Linked DNA regions of Homo sapiens: region 2 is linked to region 1. The links are contacts of gene promoters, found by promoter capture Hi-C in blood cells and fetal thymus (Javierre and others, 2016). All regions are on one chromosome and are shown on one strand. Each heading gives the region's core, a stretch centred on a gene start or on the middle of the fragment in contact. The rest is flanking DNA. Distances are from core to core; before and after follow the strand shown.

The links. Contacts are between HindIII fragments. The CHiCAGO score rates a contact against its expected background, and 5 or more counts as called.
Region 2: a fragment that was not itself captured here is called in contact with the fragment with the promoter of TMEM248 in region 1 in 4 of 17 cell types (fetal thymus, naive CD8 T cells, non-activated CD4 T cells and 1 more); the score reaches 7.2 in fetal thymus.

The regions. Positions count from the first base shown.
Region 1 is chr7:66,917,834-66,924,699 of GRCh38, reverse strand. It overlaps TMEM248 (transmembrane protein 248), which reads right to left and starts at 3,475. Exons shown (of 7, transcript NM_017994.5): 1 at 3,239-3,475. RefSeq lists a silencer at 3,184-3,433. The HindIII fragment of the contact is 775 bases long and covers 2,788-3,562 here.
Region 2 is chr7:65,749,538-65,756,403 of GRCh38, reverse strand. The region is part of intron 2 of LINC03006 (long intergenic non-protein coding RNA 3006); the gene reads left to right. SNORA22 (small nucleolar RNA, H/ACA box 22) reads right to left here and starts at 878; the gene lies at 745-878. It also overlaps the pseudogene CCT6P1. RefSeq lists enhancers at 5,088-5,157, 5,518-5,787, 5,818-5,927 and a silencer at 5,278-5,497. The HindIII fragment of the contact is 2,092 bases long and covers 2,123-4,214 here.

The DNA.
Region 1 (6,866 bases), core at 2,226-4,725:
GGTGTGGTGGCTCATGCCTGTAATCCCAGCACTTTGGGAGGCCGCAGTGGGCGGACCACCTGAGGTCAGGAGTTTGAGACCAGCCTGACCAACATGATGAAACCCTGTCTCTACTAAAAATAGAAAAATTAGCCAGGCATGGTGGCGGGCATCTGTAATCCCAGCTACTCAAGAGGCTGAGGCAGGAGAATCGCTTGAACCCGGAAGGCGGAGGTTGCAGTGAGCTGAGATCGCGCCACTGTACTCTAGCCTGGACGACAGAGCAAGACTCTGTCTCAAAAAATATATATAAAATAAAATAAAATAAGGGCTAAGGCTGAGGCCAGTGAGGTCCTGAGATCAGTCATATCATCTAGAGCAATTACATGGCATCCTGTGTGAATGGCTTCAAAGGTTCTTCAGTACTGGGCAAGGGAAACACACCATCTCTGTGACATGGACCAGATTTCACTAAAAACCCTCTGGAGAGGACTGAAGGGCTTGCCATTTATCCTTTGGCTGTAGCCAGAGCTGCAGAGACCAGACTAGAGCTGTGCTCCTGCAAACTGAACACAGGCACTGAAACAACTCACAGACATCAAATTTAATTTCCTGATTGTCAATACCAGACAGGAATGACAATCAGCATCTTTTTCATTGTCCTTAATAAAATAAGTTAAGCATTGTTTTATGCCAACGGCCTCTTACAGAACAAGACAAACTCATTAAATGAAAACAATTCTTTAGAAACCAAAGGCCAGGCCTGGTGGCTCACGCCTGTAATCCCAGCACATTGGGAGGCTGAGGCAGGCGGATCACTTGACGTCAAGGGTTTGAGACCAGCCTGGCCAACATGGTGAAACCCTGTCTCCATTAAAAATACACAAATTAGCTGGGTGTGGCGGCATGCACCTGTAGTCCCAGCTACTCAGGAGGCTGAGGAATCGCTTGAACCCAGAAGGCAGAGGTTGCCGACTGCGTCACTGCACTCCAACCTGGGCAACAGAGCAAGACTCCATCTCAAAGAAAACAAAAACAAAAAAACCCAGAAATCTACGAGAAACTAGACTGGGTAGCTTATGCTTATCTTTCTTAGAAAAGCATTTAACCCTTAACTAGCTGCCTCTGCCAATATTTCTAGGCACTGATTGTCCAGCTACCTAGCCTGGGTGCTTGTCCACCAACTGGCCCTAGTTTTTTCATTTCCCAGCTAATTCTGAATGGCCCAAATCCTCTTGATCTTTCTAGGTCCACCTCAAAGTTTACTTCACGAGTTTCGGGCTGAGCAAGGTGGCTCACACCTATACTTCCAGCACTTTGGGAGGCCAAGGTGGGCAGATCACCTGAGGTCAGGAGTTCAAGGCCTGGCCAACAACATGAAACCTCGTCTCTACCAAAAATACAAAAATTAGCCAGGCGTGGTGGCAGGCAACTGTAATCCCAGCTACTCAGGCAGCTGAGGCAGAAAAATCGCTTGAACCTGAGAGGCAGAGGTTGCAGTGAGCTAACTTCGCGCCACTGCACTCCAGCCTAGGCAACAGAGCAAGACTCCGCCTCAAGAAAAAAAAAAAAGTTAGTTTCTGATCCTAACCATAACAAAATCCTGAACAGTTGGTATACCACTATGGCAATTCAGTCCTGCCACATTTTCTAGCCTATTGCTTCCTCTAAGTACATTCCTTACAGGCAGAAACTATTAATATATTCGCACTTATGCCAGGTGCGGGTGGTTCACGCCTATAATTCCAGAACTTTGGGAGGCCGAGGAGGATGGATCACCTGAGGTCAGGAGTTCAAGACCAGCCTGGCCAACATGGTGAAACCTTGTCTCTACTAAAAATACAAAAATTAGCTGGGCATGGTGGCGGGCACCTGTAATCCCAGCTACTAGGGAGGCTGAGGCAGGAGGATTGCTTGGACCTGGGAGGCAGAGGTTGCAGTGAGCAGAGATCGCACCACTGCACTCCAGCCTGGGCGACAAGAGTGAGACTCTGTCTCAAAAACATATATATATATAATCTACCTTTCCTCCTTGCCACAGATGCAGCTAGAGCCTAAACGGAGAAGGTGCCAGTTAACTAGCCTTTGGTGATTTTAGCATTGAGACTCCGGTGCTAGCAGTGATTCCAGTCCACCTGATTCAGGCCACAGGAATTCTCCCAGAATCTTCACTACAAGTTGAAACTCCAAATCCTTAATCCTAGAGAGTAAATGCACTTAGGGTCAATGCACACCTAAGTATACCTTAGGTGCGCGACAGGTCTATTTCCTGTCAGAATCCCTAGATGAAAAGAGGAAGTAGATGGACACCCTTATCGGTCAAGCGCTGATGGAACACTCATCTACAAATGAGATACACATGCTGAGACCCTAAGCTGACCCAAGCTGATGGTGCTATCGAGACAAACCACTTTATCACATATTCATCAGCAGTCTCGGAGTTTTTCTTCCCATTCCCTCCCGTAGCGGCTCACCTTTGAGGCAGGAAAGAAGCAGTTCAGGCGGAAGCCACAATCTTTACAAAGCAGGCTTCAGAGAAGCTCACCATTCATCAGCCAGTGAGGGCTGTCACCTGCTAGTTGAGAACTAAACTCAGACATCAGATTCTTCCACAAAGGCCTCCTCACCAGCTGTCCGATGGGTACGGCGTTCAAACGACTCAAAACAGCACAACAAGCCTGGTTTTATTTCTGATGGTCCCCATCAAGGGAACTGAAACTACATGCCTCTAGATTACCTTGCGATCACTCCTCATTTTATTAAAAACATGAAGAAAGAATCCACCCCATTCCGGATATTTACCAAGCTTGACACAGGGAACACCACTATGCCATTTAACTTTGTGGACGTACGTGAGTCTCTCCCTCCCACCTTTCTGAGATGTGTTTCACTGCCAAACGGAGAAGAAACGCAAACACTCCCCAAAGCCGAAAAATGGCAAACGACCAAGATGTTTCCCGTGCCAAATCCGAATTATCCAGGCCTCGGCTCCAGACGTGGGAAGTCCCGCCATCTCCAAGGCCGGCAGGGAACCCTGGCTCGGGGGACGCGAGTGGGCAAACCCCAGTGTGGGGGGACCAGGCCGAGGTCGGCCGATGCTGGGCGACCCCCGCCAGCAGTTGGGGCGGGGTCTGCACCCTGAGAAGCGGTGAAAAAAGCCGGCGGAGGAGCCGCTCCCGACCAGCACGCTCCCCGCTCCCGGCCCCGCGGGCAGCCCCGACTGGGCCCGACCCCAGCCCGCCCTCCAGCCCCGGCTCACCCCGCCCCGGCGGGCAGCTGCGCGCCCCGGGCCCAGCCGGGCCAGCTGCTCGGCGGACGCCCGCGGTCGCGCTGGGCTCACTCGTGGCGGCGCGTGGCGGGCCCGAGGCCGCTAGGCACCATCTTCTCCCCGCGCCGGGGGCAGCGTCTGGCTCCGCGGGGCCGACGCGAAGACCAGACGCCAACCGGGCTCCCGCCGCCGCCTCAGTTCGGGCTCCGGCAACCGCGGTTTCCGGGTGAAAAAAAAAAAAAAAACCACGCCACCTCCAACGCCGCCGTGACCTCCGACCCCGGGCGTCCGACGGTGGCGCGGCCGGGACAAGCTTCGTCAGAGGCAGGCGGCGGAGACCACGCTTCCGGGACGGGTAGCGTGCATGCGGACGTGCGTGGAGTGCGTGATGGACGTTTATGGGTCTGTGTGCCGGTCTGGTGTTGTGCGTGTGCGTGTGTGCGTAGTGCGTGTATGTGGCTTGTAGTGTGCATCGTGTACAACGGTGTGTGCAGTGAGTGCATGTATGTGCATCTGTGTGCGCGTGTGTGGTGTGTGATGGTATGGGTGTGTGCATGCGTAGATGTGTAGGGAGTGCGCACACGTGTGCATGCTCATGTGTGTGCTATGCGTGTGTCTGTTGATGTGCTTGTATATTAATCACTGCTGATAAACATGTAATTTTGGACCAGGCGCGGTGGCTCAGGCCTGTAATCTCAGCACTTTGGGAGGCCAAGGCAGGAGGATCGCTTGAGTCCTGGAGTTCCAGACCAGCCTGGGTAACATAGGGAGTCTCTGACTCTATTTATAAATAAAATAAAATGAAAATGAAAATTTTTAAAGTATAATTTTGTACAATCACTTTGCAAAGTAATTTGGCATTATGCAGTACACTTAAAGATATACACATCCTCTCTTGAGAATATATTACCCTGGAGAAACAGTTGCACCTATGCACAAGTAGACAAAATAATGCTCATAGCAACACCAATGTTTTTAGCAGCAGTATGACTCACTAAAAATTGGGGAGAAAAAGCAGATGTCCATACAGTCAAATGTAAAAACCAACTTTGATATATTCATGGTTTGGTTTGTTTTTGTAGAGACAGGGTCTCCCTATGTTACTCAAGCTGGTCTCGAACTACTGGACCCAAGTGATCCTCCCACCTCGGGAGGATCTGGGATTACAGGTGTGAGCTGCCACGCCTGGCCCATCTTCGTGTTTAATCGGGTACAAAAGACCAGTGAAAATTATTTAATACAGCTCACACAATTATGGTAGTCAATTGCAGACTATATTGGCAGGGACCAAATCACAAAATGGTACACTGCTACATATTTCCATTATGTAAAATTCAAAACAGGCAAGTTCATAACATATTGTTTAGAGATGCATACATAATTGTTTGAACTGACATGAAGCATGAGAAAAAGATGTATAAACTTCATGTTAAGTGTTAGGGGAATGGGATGGGGGAGGAGTACAGGGTGCTTTAAAGGTAATAAAGTTTTGTTGTTCTTGCTTTTGAGACAAGGTCTTGCTCTGTCACCCAAGCTGGAGTGCAGTCGCATGATCATGGCTCACTGCAGACTCGGCCTCCCAAGCTGAAGTGATCCTCCTGTCTCAGCCTCCTGAGTAGCTGGGACCACAGATGTGCACCATCGTGCCCAGCTAATTTTCATATTTTTCACAGAAATGGGGTTTCCCCCAAATTGCTCAGGCTGGTCTCAAACTCCTGGGCTCAAGTGATCCGCTCACTTCCACCTCCCAAAGTGCTGGGATTACAGGCATGAGCCACCACACCCAGCCATCTTTAACAAAAGTTTATCAGGTGAAGCCTGTAATGTTCAACACAATGGCTCAGTTCCTTCACTGAATACCCTCTTATTTCCATGATTCTTGCCCTCTTTTGTTATCTTGCACCATTTGAATTATCTTCCTTGTTGTAATGGGTGTGACATTATCTGCAAGTGCAGGCAGTATTGAATTGTGTATATAATGATGGAACCAAACTTCCTAATGAGATGTCCCTTACCAGGCTAGGACTGATAATGTAATTAAAGGAGCCCCACCACCAATGGCACCATATATGACTTAGTGATTGAGACCGTAGGAGAATGTAAAAAAGGCAACCTCAAACCTTTCATCCTAGCTGCCTTGTATGGGATTTCAAAAAAAATTTTTGTTTTTGTTTTGAGATGGAGTCTCGCTCTGTCGCCCAGGCTGGAGTGCAGTGGCACGATCTTGGCTCACTGCAACCTCTGCCTCCTGGGTTCAAGCGATTCTCCTGCCTCAGCCTCCTGAGTAGCTGGGATTACAGGCGCATGCCACCACGCCCCGCTAATTTTTGTATTTTTAGTAGAGAAGGTGTTTTGCCATGTTGGTCAGGCTGGTCACGAACTCCTGGCCTCAAGTGATCTGCCCACCTTGGCCTCCCAAACTGTTGGGATTACAGGTGTGAGCCCGAGTCCAGTAAAAAAAAAAAAAAAAAAAAAGAAACCTTTTTAAATAGAGACAAGGTCTCACTGTGTTGCCCAAGCTGGTTTTGAGCTTCTGGCCTTAAGCAATCCTCCTTACTCAGCTTCCCAAAGAGCTGGGATTATACGTGTGAGCTACCATGTCCAGCTGGATTGTAAAATTCTTTTTTTAAAAAAAGATTACATGGTGCAGCCACTTTTAAACAACAATCTGGCAATTTCTCAAAAAGTTTAACATAGAGTTATCATTTGAAGCCAGGTGTGTTGGCTCACGCCTGTAGTCCCAACAGTGGGAGGCTGAGGCAGGAGGATCGCTTGAGCCCAGGAGTTCAAGACCAGCCTGGCCAACATGGTAAAACCCTGTCTCTACTAAAAAATAAAAATAAAAAAATTAGCTGGGCATGGTGGTGGGCACCTGTAATCCCAGCTACTCAGGAGGCTGAGGCAGGAGAATCACTTGAACCTGGGAGGCAGAGGTTGCAGTGAGCTGAGATTGCGCCACTGCCCTCCAGCCTGGGCAACAGAGTGAGACTGTCTAAAAAAAAAAAAAAAAAAAACCATTCTGGAAAACATAGCAAACCCCATCTCATAAATAAATGAACAAGTTCTAAGACATATGGCTTTATTTAAAAAAATAAAAAGTTACTGGCCACATGTGGTGGCTCACGCCTTTAATCCCAGCACTTTGGGAGCCCAAGGTGGGTGGATCACTTGAGGTCAGGAGTTTGAGACCAGCCTTGCCAACATGGCGAAACCCCGTCTCTACTAAAAATACAAAAAATTAACCGGGTTTGGTGGCCGGTGCCTGTAATCCCAGCTACTTGGGAGGCTGAGATGAGTGGCTTGAACCCAGGAAGCAGAGGTTGCAGTGAGCTGAGATCACGCCACTGCACTTCAGCCTGGGCGACAGAGCCAGACCTTGTCGCCAAAAAAAATAAAAGTTACCATTTGACCTCACAATTCCACTCCTGGAGATCCAAGAGAATTGCAAACAAAAATTCCAAACAAAAAGTTGTACAGGAGTGTTTATAGCAGCATCATAATAGCCAAAAAGTGGAAGCAACTCAAATGTTCATCAACTGATTAATGGAAAAACAAAATGTAGCAAATTCACAAGCAGAATGGTATTCAGCCATGAAAAGGAATGAAGAAATAATGCATA
Region 2 (6,866 bases), core at 1,919-4,418, 1.2 Mb after region 1:
CAGAAGGCTAAAGTAGACAGTTTCTTCATTTTACAATCTCTACACTGATTTGTATTTTTCTATAAGCAGATAGAATACATTATATATGAACAGCTGTTACATTTCTGAAATCTCAATCTGTAATTCTCAAACATTAACATTCCTTAACATTAACATTCCTCCTGGTGTTTCATTAAAAATACTGATAACTGGAAGCTTTCTAATAACAAAATCTCCACTTTATAAACCTTTTAATGAAAGCTCCAATTTTACTTTTAAAACCCGGTTAGGTATACTATTATTTGAATTTCCTCATTTTACTTTTTAGAGACACAGATTAGGTATCACTGCCACAAAAATGAACCTACATAGCACCTTGTGATTGAAATTGGTAATTATATTCATGTTTCTACTATCAGAGATTTTCTACATAGGTGTACCATACCAGACACAGACAAAATTTAATACATACCTCTGTTAAGACATCTGCAAGTTCAGCATGAACTTTAGTACAAAGAGATGCCCTGGCCACATCTTTAAGTGTTTCCTTGTCCATCTCTCTGCTTACTTTGACTTCTTCCAAAAAATGAAGGGCTTTTCCTTCACAGCTTCAAATCCTTCAGTGATTATTCTGGGATGAAGGCCCTACAATAAACACACAATAACACTTGCATCTTCAATTAGGTGCAACTATAGTTCATGATAAAGTTCAGACAATTCTTGGAGGGATACTCTGATCATCCTATCTTTGAACACGAGGTAATATAATGTGCTGGCTTTCTGAATACATTTAAAAGGATAAATATTCCTTTTAATGCAGAGGAGAAGAGCAGGCAATGCTCTAGCACAGGGTCAAAGCCAAGGGAACTATAAAGCACACTTGGGTGTTCACTGTGCAAACCACTCCGAATCATGTCAAAACCGACACTGTGTCCCAACAACTCACAGATGGTAGCATTATTCTATCTTTTCTATAGGTAATCTCAAACTAATTCCATCATTTACTAATAAAAATAAATAAAGACTATCTGCTCTCTTTTACCCGAAAATTCTGACAATAGATTCGTAGTCACTGAGGTTTGTTTTAAACCTTGGAACTAGTCAGGGCTAAAAAAGTGGAATTTATCTAAATGTAAGCTTTTGGTTGTCTCTTTCCTAACAAATAAATATGCCTAGTCCTAAACATCCCATTTTAAAATCTCAATTATTAATCTAAAGACAGATACAAATCACATAGGCAATTCAACTTGATTACAAAATTATTTTCAGGCCAAAAAAGGTTCCATAACCTGTCCAAGCTCACAACAAATTTGTTTTAGACCAAGACAAAGACCCAGATTTAAGCCCCCTAATCCTACTGTATGGCCTCCGCTAGTATTAACACATCAATTTGTATAAATAAGTATCTGACACGTCCTATATACAATAATATATTACAGAAACAAGAGTTGTGTGCCGGGCGCGGTGGCTCACGCCTTTAATCCTAGCACTTTGGGAGGCCAAGATGGGTGGATCACCTGAGGTCAGGAGTTGGAGACCAGCCTGACCAACGTGGAGAAACCCCGTCTCTGCGACAAATACAAAATTAGCCGGGCGTGGTGGCGCATGCCTGTAATCCTAGCTACTGAGGAGGCTGAGGCTGGGAATTGCTTGAACCCAGGAGACAGACGTTGCAGTGAGCCGAGATGCCATTGCACCCCAGCCTGGGCAACAAGAGTGAAATCCCATCTCAAAAAAACAAAACAAAAAAAAGTTGTGCATACTTCAGAAATGTAGAGATCTGCCTGTTTCAGCAGCTCTCCAATGATTAGGACATTGGAAGTCGTACCATCACCAGTTATATCATCCTGGGCTGTTGCTACCTTTGCTATTAAGGAAGCTGTTGGGTGTTGAATTTGCTGAAAGTAGAAAAAGAACGAATCACTTAAAACAATATGAAACAGTCTAAAAATACCACAAATAAAATGCATGAAGGGCCTCTTTAAGTACTATCTACTTGAAAAAGCTACCCAAGTGTTTGGCTACAAATTACTAAGATTAAAAAGTCACAATTTGCTATCATGCGCATGCAATTATAATGATGGAAACATTTTCATGTGTAATTTATTTCCCAGGTTATCTCTACTTTACAGATGAGGAAGCTTGAGGCTCAGTGAAAGTTTACGCAAGATGACAGCTAACAGTTAACAGTAACGGATAATTTTACATCCTTGCCTCTTTAGGCAAGTGTAGGGCTCTACGAGAATAAGCCAGGTATCTCCTAAAATGAAAGCTCAGCAGCCTCCACTGTTACTCTGCAATGGCCAAGTAATTTAAAAGGAAAGGTCAGGTGCGTTAGCTCATGCCTGTAATCCCAGCACTTTGGGAGGCCACAGCAGATGGATCCCTTGAACTCAGGAATTCGAAACCAGCCTGGGCTACATGGCAAAATCCTATCTCTTAAAAAAAAAAAAAAGCGGAAAAAAATTGTATTTTAAAGGTAAAATGACATGTCTGCAGCTTACCTTCAAATGATTCAGAGGAAAAATAGAAAAGAAATGGAGCAACATGTAAACAATTGGTGAATCTAGGTAAAGGGCACACACAATATAATCATTATTTTCGTAGGTTTGTAATTTTTTCAAAGAAAACTGAAAAACAGACTTCTGGAGATTGGAGAGAAGTTCCAGTGGGAGGGGACTTCTGAGGTGGTAGCAACAATTTATTTCTTAACTACAATAGTGGTTGTGTGTGTCCACTTTATAATTATTTCCTAAATTGTAAATGTTCTACGTGCTTCTCTCTACTTATGCTGTATTTCTCACACACTAAAACCCAAATAAATTTTTTTTTTTTTTTGGTGACAGTCTCACTCTGTCACCTAGGCTGGAGAGTGCAGTGGCACAATCTTGGCTCACTGAAACCTCAGCCTCCCAGGTTCAAGCAATCGATTCTCCTGCCTCAGCCTCTGGAGTAGCTGGGACTACAGGCGTACAGAACCATGCCTGGCTAATTTTTGTATTTTCAGTAGAGACGGAGTTTCACCATGTTGGCCAGGGCTGATCGTGAACTCCTGGCCTCAAGTGATCCACCTACCTCGGCCTTCCAAAGTGCTGAGATTACAAGAATGAGCCACTGCACCCGGCCCCAAAACAATTCTGACGTCAAGTTTAACCGTGGCTCCACTTTTCTGCTAACACGAGCCACCACTGAACCCAGTAAAAACAAAAACACCTCCTAGATTAGCAAGTCTTTATTAAAGATATTTCATCTGGATGTTGATAGCATGGTATACTACTAGCAAAACCCTGATTATTCTGAACTCAAATCAGCAGGAAATCATTTCCCTTTCTTGGATTTGAACTGTTAAGTTTTGGGAATTTAGGGATGAGTAAAACGCATACTCCCTTCAATAATCTCATATTCTCCATCCCTAAGACTTTAAAAATGTTAAAGCAAAGAGATTTCTCTCCCCTCCAGTTGGAGATGGAGATGAGACATAACAGAGAAATTGCTGTTTTAAAAAGAGAAAAACCGGCCAGATGCTGTGGCTCACGCCTGGTAATCCCAGCACTTTGGGAGGCTGACTCAGGCGGATCACCTGAAGTCATGAGTTCAAGACCGGCCTGGCCAACATGGTGAAATACCATCTCTACAAAAAATACAAAAATTAGCTGGGCATGGTGGAGCAAGCCTGTAATCCCAGCTACTTGGGAGGCTGAGACAGGAGAATCACTTGAACCCAGGAGGCGGAGGTTGCAGTGAACCACTGGACTCCAGGCTGGGCGACAGAGTGAGATTCTGTCTTAAAAAAAAAAAAAAAAAAAACCCATAAAGAGAAAAACCATCCTCATGCATTTTGCCCATGTGATTGTGTCAACCACCCTTAATTTTTCAAATTTTATTATAATTAATGTACAATTACAGTCCTTTAGCCCAGACTGTGAATGGCAAAAAAGCAGGGATTCAAAGACAGGGCTGTCAGACTCCAGGCACAGTCAGTACTATTACTGTCACTGTTACATGTCACTTCTGAATGTTCTCCTACCTTGAGAATGGACATTGCAAATCTTTCTACAAAGCAAAAGTTCTACGGAAAATCAAGACATTTCTGACCTAGCAGAGCACCTCTCACCATTTCGTGAAGCAGCGCACTGTGCAGGACCGTGCCCGGCTAATTTTTGTATTTTTAGTAGAGACTGAGTTTCACCATGTTGGCCAGGGCTGATCGTCAACTCCTGTGTCTTTAGTAAGCTTGATGTCTCCAGCGCCAGAAACAAGACTGTTTAAGGGACAGAAATCAATCAAATTGTGACAAAAACGAAATTAAAACGAAAACTAAATTAAAAAGTCCCATTAGAAAATGGGCTTTTCCAGCCGGGTGCGGTGGCTCACGCCTGTAATCCCAGCACTTTGGGAGGCCGAGGCGGGTGGATCTCGAGGTCAGGATATCGAGACCATCCTGGCTAACACGGTGAAACCCCATCTCTACTAAAAATACAAAATAAATAAATAAATAAATAAATAAAGCAAGCTGGGCGTGGTGACGGGCGCCTGTAGTCCCAGCTACTCGTGAGACTGAGGCAGGAGAAAGACATGAACCCGGGAGGCGGAGCTTGCAGTGAGCCGAGATCGCGCCACTGCACTCTAGCCTGGGTGACAGAGCGAGACTCTGTCTCAAAAAAAAAAACAACAAAAAACCAAAACAAACAACAAAAAAGGACTTTTCCCAGATCTCAGGGAGCCAGGGATATGGAGCTAGTTATCAACGAAAACTAAATTAAAAAGTCCCATTAGAAAACGGGCTTTTCCCCGATCTTAGGGAGCCGAGAATATGGAGCTAGTTATCTCCCGCAGGCTGGAGGACAAGTGTAGTGCCCACCCCGTCCCCGCAGAGATTGTGCAGAGTCCTCAGGGTGTCTGGAAGCCCAAGAAGGCGGGGAACGCCGCACACTAGAGCCGCTTTTTTCTCCATGGAGACGGCATCGACGCAGGAAGAAATGGACGCAACGGTGGGGCTTAGCAGGGAACAGGACCGGCCCGGGAGGACGCGAGGAAGGGTGGCTGCGGAGCCCCGAGGCAGCGGGCTCCCATCTGCGGTCTTGGGCCCGCCAGGTGCGCAGCGGCGCGCGGTGCCCACCCAGCCCTCCCGCCAGCCCCACCTTACATCTTTATGGTCCCTTTGGGCCCCAGGTTGGTCCTCAGCACGTCCTGCAGACCCCGCGCCCCGCTAATGTTGAACGCCAGCGCCGCCTGCGCTCCGGCCACCTTGGCCTTGGGGTTCAGGGTCTTCGCCGCCGCCATAACTGCTCCAGAGGAAGAAAAGAAAGCGACGCGGCACGCGGAGAGCCCAGAGCAGGCGCGCCGTGGCCGGGATGCACTATCCGGATCTTCCGGAAAAGTCGGCGCGCCCAGCCCGCCCCTAGCGTGCCCGCGCCGCCGCTATTGGGCCACGGGCTGTCCGGCCCCCGCTCATTGGTCCGCGGCTGCACGGTGCCTGCAGTCCCACCCCTCGCCCAGCGGCCGCGACGCTATGGCGCACTGGAGTACCCTGTTCCTGGCAGTAAGTGCTTCTGGGTTCTGGCGTTGCTGCTCAGTGGGGCCCAAGTTTGCGGACCCGGGATCTCAGGATGCAGGCAGGGCTTATGCCCCGCGCCGGACAGGGCGTAGGGTGGGCCTCCTCCTGCCCCTACTCGCGCGGTTTGCTCCTCAGTCTCCTTCCCTTGCTGCTTTCACGACTTTCATTGGAGCTTTCTGGACCCTGTGCTTGACGGTGCTGTAGGTGCCGTGGGGACACACAGGCTAGTCTGATAAGCACCCTCCGCCGGAATCATGCGGTGCTGTAAGGACTAACGAAGATGAAGATAGAATGCAAGGTAGAAAGTGCTGGATGCCTTTAGAAAGCTGCAGGACTGGTGCGATGGGAGTTGAGTCATAACCTGTCCGTCATTAGGACTCAGGATGCTGCTGAGGCCCTAGGCTTCTATGGTAGATTTGAAAACTCACCCTTGTAGAGTGATGGTGTCCAGCCTTTGAGAGGACTCCCTTTTAAGGTAAATTTCCAAAGAGCTCCACAATTGTTTACAGTATCCGGTGCCCGCCAAATTCCAGGGATTCAGTTACACGTGATATTTTACTTCATTTTTTCTTTTTATAGACACACGGCCTCACCATGTTGCCCAGGGTGGTCTCAAATTCCTGAGCTCAAGTGATACTGCTGAGCTCAAGTGATCCTCCCGTCTCGGCCTCCCAAAGTGCTGGGATTACAGGCATGAGCCACCGTGCCCGGCCAGTATTTTATTTTTAATAGATAACGGAAATTGTTCTGAATTCAAAAGGCACCAAAGGGCATGTGGTGGAAATTAAATCTTCCTCCCGCCACTAGTTCAACACTAGAGACAAGCACAGTTACCCCGGATACTCGATGAATTTTCGGAATGCTTTCTGAATTTATAAACTTATATGTAAATATAATCATTTCCCCACACAAATGGCAATTCCTAATACACACTGTAGGGTGTGTTATACTTTAAATGTCTTGGAGAGTGTGCCATATCAAGACTAATGGGAAGTCCTCATTAACAGCTGCGTGATGTTCTTCGTAAGAATTACACAACTAGGAGCCGGGGCACGGTGGCTCACGACTGTAATCCCGACACTTTGGGAGGCCGAGGCAGGTGGATCACTTGTGCCTAGGAGTTCAAGACCAGCCTGGGCAATGTAGTGAGACCCCATCTATACAGAAAGTACAAAAATTAGCCGGGCGTGGTGGTGCATGCCCATGGTCCCAGCTACTCGAGAGGCTGAGGTGGGAGGATCGCCAGAATCTAGGAGGCGGAGGTTGCAGTCAGCTATGTCAGCTATGATATTGCCACTGCACTGCAGCCTGTCTCAAAAAGAATGATACA